Linked DNA regions of Homo sapiens: regions 1 and 3 are each linked to region 2. The links are contacts of gene promoters, found by promoter capture Hi-C in blood cells and fetal thymus (Javierre and others, 2016). All regions are on one chromosome and are shown on one strand. Each heading gives the region's core, a stretch centred on a gene start or on the middle of the fragment in contact. The rest is flanking DNA. Distances are from core to core; before and after follow the strand shown. Region 1 has its middle 45 kb from the start of LINC02290. Region 2 holds the start of FNTB (farnesyltransferase, CAAX box, subunit beta). Region 3 holds the start of PPP2R5E (protein phosphatase 2 regulatory subunit B'epsilon).

Evidence for each region. Contacts are between HindIII fragments. The CHiCAGO score rates a contact against its expected background, and 5 or more counts as called.
Region 1: a contact is called between a fragment that was not itself captured here and the fragment with the promoter of FNTB in region 2, in 7 of 17 cell types (naive B cells, fetal thymus, naive CD8 T cells and 4 more). The highest score is 10.0, in naive B cells.
Region 3: a contact is called between the fragment with the promoter of PPP2R5E here and the fragment with the promoter of FNTB in region 2, in 2 of 17 cell types (fetal thymus and total CD8 T cells). The highest score is 7.3, in fetal thymus.

The regions. Positions count from the first base shown.
Region 1 is chr14:66,065,376-66,068,770 of GRCh38, reverse strand. No RefSeq gene overlaps it. Among named protein-coding and RNA genes, the nearest start is that of LINC02290, 45 kb to the left of the region's middle. The HindIII fragment of the contact is 957 bases long and covers 1,133-2,089 here.
Region 2 is chr14:64,985,645-64,988,848 of GRCh38, reverse strand. It overlaps FNTB (farnesyltransferase, CAAX box, subunit beta), which reads right to left and starts at 1,954. Exons shown (of 12, transcript NM_002028.4): 1 at 1,752-1,954. The coding sequence starts at 1,895. All of the region lies in intron 3 of CHURC1-FNTB (CHURC1-FNTB readthrough), which reads right to left. LOC107984655 (a long non-coding RNA gene) reads left to right here and starts at 1,736. Exons shown (of 2, transcript XR_001750792.2): 1 at 1,736-2,169; 2 at 2,250-3,204. The HindIII fragment of the contact is 3,816 bases long and covers 1-3,204 here.
Region 3 is chr14:63,541,980-63,544,951 of GRCh38, reverse strand. It overlaps PPP2R5E (protein phosphatase 2 regulatory subunit B'epsilon), which reads left to right and starts at 1,575. Exons shown (of 14, transcript NM_006246.5): 1 at 1,575-2,173. It overlaps LOC112268140 (loricrin-like), which reads right to left and starts at 2,168. Exons shown (of 1, transcript NR_158218.1): 1 at 288-2,168. RefSeq lists enhancers at 93-172, 1,260-1,469, 532-1,523 and silencers at 1,760-1,899, 1,940-2,079. The HindIII fragment of the contact is 771 bases long and covers 1,398-2,168 here.

The DNA.
Region 1 (3,395 bases), core at 362-2,861, 1.1 Mb before region 2:
GCCCCTGGACAACTGCAACAGCTTCATAGTTGCTTATACTCCTGAATCAGCACTTCCCTCTCCATGGCACAGCCAGAGTAAGCTTTACAACATGGAAATCTGTCCCTGATACTCTCCTACTTAAAATCCTTTGAAGGCTCCTCATCACTTTTAGGATAAACACTCAAAGCTTTACAAACCTGTGGCCTAGTCCTGCCCACCACTTCTGTGCCCATCTGATGCCACCTCCCTCTGTCATGACCTGAGTCTCTTTATGGTGCTTTTCTCTGATCCTTAAACTTGCCATGCTCTGTCTCAGCTCATGTCCTTTTTCTTTGCCTGTGATGCTCTCCTTACCACCATGAACACTTGCCTTTGCCTAGTTAACTCCTGTGCATTCTTCAGAACCCAAACTCCAACAGTCTCCTTCCTTAAAGGAGCCTTCACTGACCTGAGACTAAGCCAGGTTCCCTGTCACACAATCCCCCAACATGGCCACATGTTGTGGTGACTATATACTTAAAAAATTGAGGCTTATCTCCTCCACTAGAATGTACACTCCTTGAAGTTGGGAGTCGTGTCTTTGTGCACCTGGCGTTGTGTCTGGCATCTAGGCCTGTCTCAGCAAAGACTTGTTGAATGAATGGATGGACACTATTGTGCTCTTTCTTTTAATATCAGCGGGTGGTGAGGGCACCACCACAGACTGAAGAAACGGAGGTCCTCAGTCTGGAGAGATGTAGGTGTGGTACTGATCAGAGTGGGAGGTGGACTGTGTTGTTGTCTGACAGCTGACAATTCTCGGATTTTGTGGACTAGGAGGGTATCCACACGTTCTTGCCTCTTCTGTCTGTGTAGATACTCTCTCCCATCTGGCTCTATCTTGTGCCAGTGTTGTGTACATGCCCACCCACACCCCCAGCCTGTGACCTGGGAGAGCCCCACCAAAGCCCCCCTTCCTTGTGGCTTCATGCCCTTGTTTATTCTTGGGCTGGGAAACCTGAGTCTTCCATTCCCAGGCCTGCTTCTGATCATATACAATGCAGTACTAAAAAGCCAGTTGGTCTCCTGGAACTTCTTTCTTCCCATTAGTTGTTGGCAATGCAAATGAAGGATTAAATCACAAGCAAGACAGACTTTTTGTTCAGAAGCTTGAGTTTTAAGAACCGTCCCCAGGGAAATCAAATGGAAGGGGGAAAACCAAGTATACAAGGCCTTCCTTCCATTCCCCCAAATGTCAGCCAAGAGTGCAGCCTAAGGGATGAGTCAGAAGTAGGGGAGCCAGGGCTTGGAAAACTGATTGTCTATACCAGGGCTTTTCATACTTTAGCATGCATCAGGATCACCTGGAGGGCTTGTTAAACACAGATGGTGAGGGCCCACCCCTAGAGCTTCTGATTCAATTGGCCTGGGGTGGGGCTCAAAAATTTGTGTTTTCAAAGTAGGTAATGCCGATGCTGCTGGTCTCTGGGGCCCCATACCTTGAGAACCACAGCACTACACTGTAGTCTCTCCCCACGTGTTCTAACTCAGTGCCTCTCAAACTCCAACGTGTATTCCACTCCCCTGAAAATGTTAGCGCACAGGCTCTGATGGAGGAGGTTGGAGTGCAGCTGGAGTTTCCGCTTTATTAACCAGCTCCCTGGTGATGAGGATGCTGCTGCCGCACTGAGGTCCCTACGCTGAAAAGCAACGCAAGGTAAACAATTGTCTTCTGGAGCTCTGCTTCTCTCTGATAGACATCTTTTCCTTCCTTTATGCCTTCCTGGTATATTGGGGATATTAGGGGAGACCTTTGAGAGACATGGGTGCCAGGGAATATCACTCTAAGTCTTCCTGGGTCTCGTTGGCCTGACCAACAGGAATCCAATGTTTATGTGCCAGAGGTTTGTTTTGTCTAAGCTACGAAATGAAACTTGGCCTTCTTTAACCACCCTTTGCTGGAGAGACCCTTGCCCATGATGCTGATGGGTGTGAAGCAGAAATACAGTGGAAGAGCTACCCTGGAGGAATCATGCTGCCAAGTCAGACAACTGGAACGTGTCTCACTACCGGGAGTAGTTTCACTGAGGTTGTGAAAGGGTGGGATTCAATGGGGAAAAGGAAAGCTTGCTCCCTTTATTATAAAAAGTGTTTACCAGGCACAGTGGCTCACACCCGTCATCCCAGCACTTTGGGAGGCTGAGGTGGGTGGGTCACCTGAGGTCGGGAGTTCAAGACCAAGCCTGGCCAACATGGTGAAACCCTGTCTCTACTAAAAATACAAAAGAAATTAGCCGGGCCTGATGGCGGGCACATGTAATCCCAGCTATTAGGGAGGCTGAGGCAAGAGAATCCAGGAGGTGGAGGTTGCAGTGAGCCGAGATCGCGCCACTACACTCCAGCCCAGGCAACAAGAGCAAAACTCCATCTCAAAAAAAAAAAAAAAAAGGAAAAAGTGTTGTGTTGGCAGCATATGGTTTCTGACCATGAGCTCTGTCTGGGGTTAAGGGACATAGACTCAAAGCTTTAAATGAAATCGCATTTGTAGGTTGTTTACCACAGAGCCTAGCCCTTAGTGTGTGCTTAATGAATGACAACTGCCATCATTTTTAAATTGGGAAGTACTAATTGTAGTAGAATCAGAATCCATATCGGAGGAAAACTGGCAGCTTGATAGCCTATAGAATCAAACATGATGTTTTGGCCACTGGGATTTCCTGTGCTCCGGAGGCCTAGCTCAGCCCCTGTGCTATTTAGTACATTTTTGTTGAATGAAAAGAAGGAGCTATACAAGTCTGGGTAAATTGGTAGGTGGGGGGCATTTGATCTCATGGAAATTGTCCGAAAGGAAAAAATGAATGGAATTCTGAAAGTGAGGTCTTTCAGGCCCTGGGTAACCTTGCTCGGTTTATTTATAAAATGGATCACTCCCACTCCTTGACAGGGTTATTGTGAGAAATGTTTTGTGATGGAAAGTGCTTGGTTAATTATAAAGCATAAATCAAGTATTCATTATTTTAATAAAGTGGAGGACCTAAAACTACCTAACAGGTCATTTGAATTGTGACCACTTTAGTGATGAGGCTGGGAGTAAAATTTTCCTGCCATCAGGTGTTAGTATGTTGGATAGGCCTTTTAGGCTGGCTCTCACTTGCTAGAAAAGCCTCTGAGCTTCTTGGTATTATTTGCTAAATGGGACATAAACCTTTTCAGAAAGCCAGAGTACAGGTGGGCCAGCAGGTAAGGCCGCCTGAGAAGGACTCACCTTTGTCGACCCAACAGGGAGCCCGTGAGCCTGGCTGGCAAGGAAAGACCCTCAAATCTCCCTTCCCAGCCCCTTCTCAGTCTAATGCATCTCATTTATTGTTAATGCTGTTTCCACTGGCTCATTTGCAAACAGCCTGAATAAAACATCAGAGCAGAGCGGGAGGGGT
Region 2 (3,204 bases), core at 705-3,204:
ACCTGAAACTGTTCATCCTAGACTCTAATAATGTGTGCTGGAATAACAACATGAAAAAGAAATATAAGATTCTTTACTGTCTGCCATACCGTTGGGTCTAGATTTGAAAGATACTCGCACCAGGAGCAGTGGCTCACGACTGTAATCCCAGCACTCTAGGAGGCCGAGGAGGGCAGATCACTGGAGGTCAGGAGTTCAAAACCAGCCTGGCCACATGGTGAAACCTGTCTCTACTAAAATACAAAAATTAGCCAGGCGTGGTGGTGGGCGCCTGTAGTCTCAGCTACTCTGGAGGCTGAGGCAGGCGAATGGCGTGAACCCGGGAGGCGGAGGGTGCAGTAAGCCAGTGCATCCCAGCCTGGCAACAGGGCGAGACCCCATCTCAAAAAAAAAAAAAAAAAAAAAGGCAATCCCATAGTCTAAGGTCAGATAATAAGTAAAACACTTGACCTGAATCAACTCAGCAATCCATCATTTAGGAATTCTGCAAAGATCCTGTAGGTTTTTCATCAATGGGAAATTTCTTTACAATCTTTTGCAGTCAGCCTTCCCTGGGACACACTGGTAGGCAAACCAACCTGGAGAATTAGCTAGATTCGAGAGGTGAGGATTTCCTTTGCTACCCTAAATTCCATGAAGTTTAAATCTCCAGTTAAAATATTTTCTCTGCTACTTTGTGAATAACCACGTATCAAGCCCTTGTTTCTGTTATAAATTTATAATTCTATTTAGTCATAACTGTACAATAAAACAATTATTGTTACTAATTTTGCCAAAGTACAGGCTTCCAACTTAAAGTAGGAAATACAAAACAGGTCTCTCCAAGGTAAAGCCTGGAGACTGATCTCACTAAGAGATCTTATTTCAGTAAGCAGCAGAATGTTCATTTATTAGTGTTAAGAATTATCCTAACCACTTCTCCTAGGGACAGATGGATAAACAGTTCCACATAGCAACCTTGGGAACAATTCCAATTAGGGAATAAGAAGAAAAACAAAACTATGGTTTTGGGCATATGAATATATACTCATTCGCCAAACACTTTTCAAAATGATAGGTTCGATCCTACTTCTAGGCCTTAGGGAATGATTAGTAGTCCAAAATCCATTCTTTCTATTAGATCACTTTCCAAACTGTTTTCCTGCCTGTCCCCCAACCAGGCTCCTGGTCAGGAGCTGTTTTATTTCCTTGTACTTCCATCGTTTAATATTGTGTCCGACACGTAGCTGGTGCTCAAATGGCTGAATGACTACCAAAATGCCCACCCACGAGGCGGGCCCCCAAACCTGGCACTGTAGGTCAAAAATTAAACAGATCGTGAAACGGCATGACAGCAGCCTGGCCCTGCTCTCTGCCTCCAGAAGCTGAGGGCAGGTTGGGAAAAGTGCACTATGCACCCCAGAACCTCCCGAAGTACTGGCAGAACAGAGTGGGCTGTCCGACCCGCACGGGCTGCCTCTGTCCTCCAGGCATAGAACACGATTCTTCTCGTTCTTTAGGGCAGAGGGGACTCGGCTACTGCCCTCTCCTCCAAGCCCAACCTTGAAACGACCCTTCCCCAAGCTGGCCGCGCAAACGCTCCACGACGAAGCCCAAGCCTGGGCGCCCGGAGCTTCCCAGAGGAAAGGCACCGCGGTGCGCTGTGGGAGTCGTAGTTCCCCGGTGAGTTCCGCACCCGGGCGGCCCTACGAACGGGACTCGCGCTCCCAGAACACATCGCGCGGGCGCCTCGCCCAGTCCTGCCACCTCACCTGTTCTATGGACGTGACTGTTTCCACCGAGTCGTCCTGCAACCGCTCTCGCGCGTGCTCGGGCCTCAGACTGTACAGCGGCTCTGACCAGACGGGGGAGGAAGATGGAGGGCAATAGTAGGTGAAAGAACTCGGAGAAGCCATGATCAGGAGAGCAGCAGACAGTGTGTAGGACTCTGCTTCGTTAAGCAACAACGCGCATTGAAACTCGAGCGGGCTAAAGCGCTACGGCGAGCGGATAGAGGCAAAAAGATTTTGAACGCGAATGTCTCCTCCCGCCTACCCGTCTTTCGAGTGAGTTACTGAGATGCTGCCGCCCCCCATTGGGCAGAGGAGCTGCTGCAAGAGCGTAGAGTCCTGAAGCGCAAGGGTGTCTACATCCGAATTTCATTTCAGCGAGATGGCGTAGGACGCCTCGGTTTGTTACGCAAATTGTTAAAGAACTGTAACATTCTGCTAATTCTCACTTAATTGTAATGCAATTGTTTGCAATTTCAGGTGCCCAAGAACCCAATGAATGTTAAGTTTGAAAGCATTTCTGACAGCTCTACTGATTTGCCTCAGTCAGGCAATTACTAAAAGAATTATTGTGCACCTTGGGGTACTTGACAGCCTCCCAGGAGAAGGCAGCAGCTGCTCAAACGTGCAAGGACGCCGTCTCAGTATCACTCAGTGATGGAGGGAGGGGGGTATTATGATTTTCTCCTGTCTCTTGGAGGTTACACTGCAGTAGCGAGAACTGAAATGCAGTACAAGGAACAAGGATAAGTGAAATAGACAGTCAGTCCGCAGATATTTATGGAACACCTGCTATGTGTCAGGCATTGTGCTAGGTTCTAGGAATACAAAAGTGAACAAAACGAAGTCCCTTCCCTTGGAAACCTTACATTCTAAGAAAATCGACAGAATTGAATGTATCCAACGCAATAAATATATGAAGACTTGTGATAAATGAGATGAAGGAAAATAACAGGGTCTATGAGAGAGACTAAAGGGGTAAGAAACTAATTGAATTGTATGGTCAGGCCAAGCCTCTCTAAATGACCTTTCATTTGAGATCCGAAGGATGACGAGGAGTCATCCAGAAGAACAGTATGGGAAAGAACTCCTGAAAAAGGAAGAAACAGCAGCTTTTAGAAGACATGTGCTGGGCACGGTGGCTCACGCCTGTAACCCCAGCACTTTGGGAGGCTGAGGCAGGAGGATCACTTGAGGAGTTAGAACATCCTGGGCAACATAGCAAGACCTCATCTCTATTAAATATCAAAAAAATTAGCCGGGCGTGGTGGCGCATGCCTGTAGTCCCAGCTGCTCGACAGGCTAAGGTGGGAGGATCTCTTGAGCCCAAGAAGTCGAGGCTGCAGTGAGCTATGATTGTGCCACTGCACTCCAGCCTGGGTGGCAGAGCGAGACCCTGTTTCAAAAAAAAAAAAAAAGCAAAACAAAAAAACAA
Region 3 (2,972 bases), core at 326-2,825, 1.4 Mb after region 2:
AGGAACTAGACTGCTGGTATTCTATAGTTCATACTTAGTGGTGATGAACTTTATCACGGCAAAAGTGGGCACTAGCCATACAGTGGCCAATCATCTGGAGTCAGTAGGGGGAGACTGCTTCCATCTAAGAGTCATCTTTTCGTTTTCCATTTCAGTTCAAAGCAGGAATATTTTTATCTTTCATGGCACAAAATTATTTTTCCACTCAAGAGCCATTTCTGGGAGTGTGCAAAGAAAATTTCAAAACTCTAGTGTTTAACAACACAAACAGGAGAAATGCAAATGCATTTTTCGTTGTCACTTGTACATATGGTACATATAGTTTTATTTATATATAGCTCTATTCCCTAACCGTATCGAAAAGATGATATAATGCTGAGGGAAAAAACTAGGCTACAGATCGACACACATTATTAACATAAAGAGAAAAAATACTAAAAGGAAGTATGCAAATACTGTAAGTGGTTATCTCTGAGTTGAGAAAATAAGAATGTTAATTTTTTTGTCCCCCCCCCCAATTTCTAAGTTTTGAACAACTGGTACTCTGACGTTTGTAGTTAGCATTAATAATTTCTTTCTTCCTTTTTTCCTCTCAAAAAATGTACGTAGGGTGCATTCAAATACATTAATCCAAGAATATTATCTGGAAATGTACCATTTGGCCGTCTGCATTCACCAAGCATGCAAACACATCTCCAAATATCTCATCACTTGTTCTAGATAGATTTAAGTAGTCTTCTCCATTAACTCTTTCGGGTCCAACTTGCCAATTAAAATCTCGAAACTCCTAGTTTGGAGCTGGGTCTTTCCGAGCTCTGAGCAGTCGGCTGACTGGCGGGTTATTCTGAATGAATAGACTGCAAACTGTGGCGACAGCGTTCCCACCTGCATTAATTAAACGAGCGCTGGCTTCAACGCTACAGGGGTCTGATATTCAAAACAGACGTTTAAGGAAAAGGAGATGAGGTGAGAGAAAATTCGAAGAAGGTTCAGCGGAGAGCGACTGCTGGGGGTTTCAAGGGGCCCATTTACACAAGCAGTGGCACACCGGCACGGGCGGGGGATCTTATTCCTGCCTACGCATCACAGGGTCCCGTCCAGAGTGGGACTCCCCAAACCCTGAGGGGCCACACTAGCTGCAGGGCGGGATCAAGTCTCCGGGGCTCCCCGACCCTTAGACGACCCGAGCCCTTGGAATCCTCCGGTCCAAGACGACCGCCGCCCAAAGGCTCCGCACAGCACGGAAAGCCAGCCCGCTGATCCGCTAGTCGCACACCTCCCGGAATTAAAGAGCTCCTCTCAGGCCCAGCGGCTTCTCACTTCAGCTTGCCCCACTGCCGGGCGGAAGCGGCGGCTGCACCGCCCGAGATCGCGGCTGCATCCGGGTTCCTCAAGCTTCGGCCCAATCCTCGACCTTCTCTCTTCCCACCCTCCCGTTTCTCCGCCCTCCTGCCGCCAATCCCTGATCAGGTCTCAGCCGAACATGCTGTCAGGGGAGTGAAGGCGGATACTGGCCAATGAGGCCTCGCTTCCCGTTTGAAGTCTCCAGTGGGCGGGCGCCGGAGGCGGGCGCTGCTGGCCAGAAGGTTCGGTTGCGCGTGTGCCATGGACTCAGCCGCCCGGTGATATTGACAATAGGAGAGAGAAAGGGGCATTGACTGGGACCCACCGCGGGTAGCGAAAGGTGGCTCTGGCAGCGGCGGCTCCAGCTCCTGCGGCTCCTCCTCCTTATTCTGTCCCCTTCTCTTGCTGCCGCTGCAGATCCAGTCTTCCTCCCTCCCTTCCCCCCCTCCCCACGTCGTCGCCGCCGCCGCCGGGTCCGGGGCAACGAGCTGAGGCGCCGCCCGCCAGGAATGTGAGCGAGGAGCCACCGGCGGAGCCGCAACGGGGTCGGTGCCGATTTGATGGGACGGGCCCGCGGGGGAGGATCGTGAGGCCGCCGCCGCCACCGGAACGCTGAGGTTCGGGTCCGGCCGTGAGGCCTAGAGGCTCCGCCGCCGCGGAACCGGAGGGACCCCGTACCGGACAGCCGTCGCCCCAGGCTCCCCGCAGCTGCCCGGACCTCCCCCTGCACGTCCCGGTCCCGCCGCCCGCCCCCGCTGCGGCCACCTCGCCCGTCTCCCGCCCCTCCAAGCCACAGATCATCTTTGGATTCTTCCCCAGAAGCTTCAAGGTAACTTAGTCCCTCCAGCACCGCGGCTCGCCCGCTTCCCTTCTTCCTCCCGGTCCTCCTGGGGAACCTATGGGGCACCGGCCTTGGGAAGGCCTGGCCGGGCAGGCGAGGGGTGCGGTGGGGTGGGGTGCGGGAGCGGGAGCGCCCGTCCCACTTGTCTGATTTACCTACAAATGCTTCTGATGATACCTCTCATTCACTCTGCCCCCTCCCCCCTTTTTCTCCACCTTCTGGGATTGGAGGCGTTTTCTTGCCCCCCTTTATCCACTGGCGGGGGCGGGGAATAAAGAGGGGTTTGGTGTGAGGAGGATTCTCTAGCAGCTTATCGTCTCCAGGGCTTGGGGTGTGGGTTAGGAGCAAAGGGAGTATGTAAGCATCCCCACAGACAAACCCCTTCCCTGTCTTTCCCTACTTCCCCTTACCCCCTTTGGATTATCCTGAGCCATGGAAATGCCCCATGCCTGCTGATTAGAGGATGATAAAGCTTCGGGAGCCCTGGCCCAGGGCGAAACCTGTTTCCCTGGGCTTTGCACGGACCCGCTGTTACCTTACGTTCAGTTTTGCAGTGCTTCAGGGTTGCGATCCTTGACGTTTATTCTGGGCCTCGGGCATAAGGGGTAAATGATTTTTTTAAAAGCTACCTATATATCGTCTGTAGAGATGAGAGATAAGGAATAAAGAAGAGACGAAAAGAGTGATGGAGGAAGAGGATTTACTGAAATGTTGTAGTGTTAGAGTTAGAGTGAAGTCTAAATAATTCACATACCCGAATGGAAAATCGGCCCCTAAATTTACAACG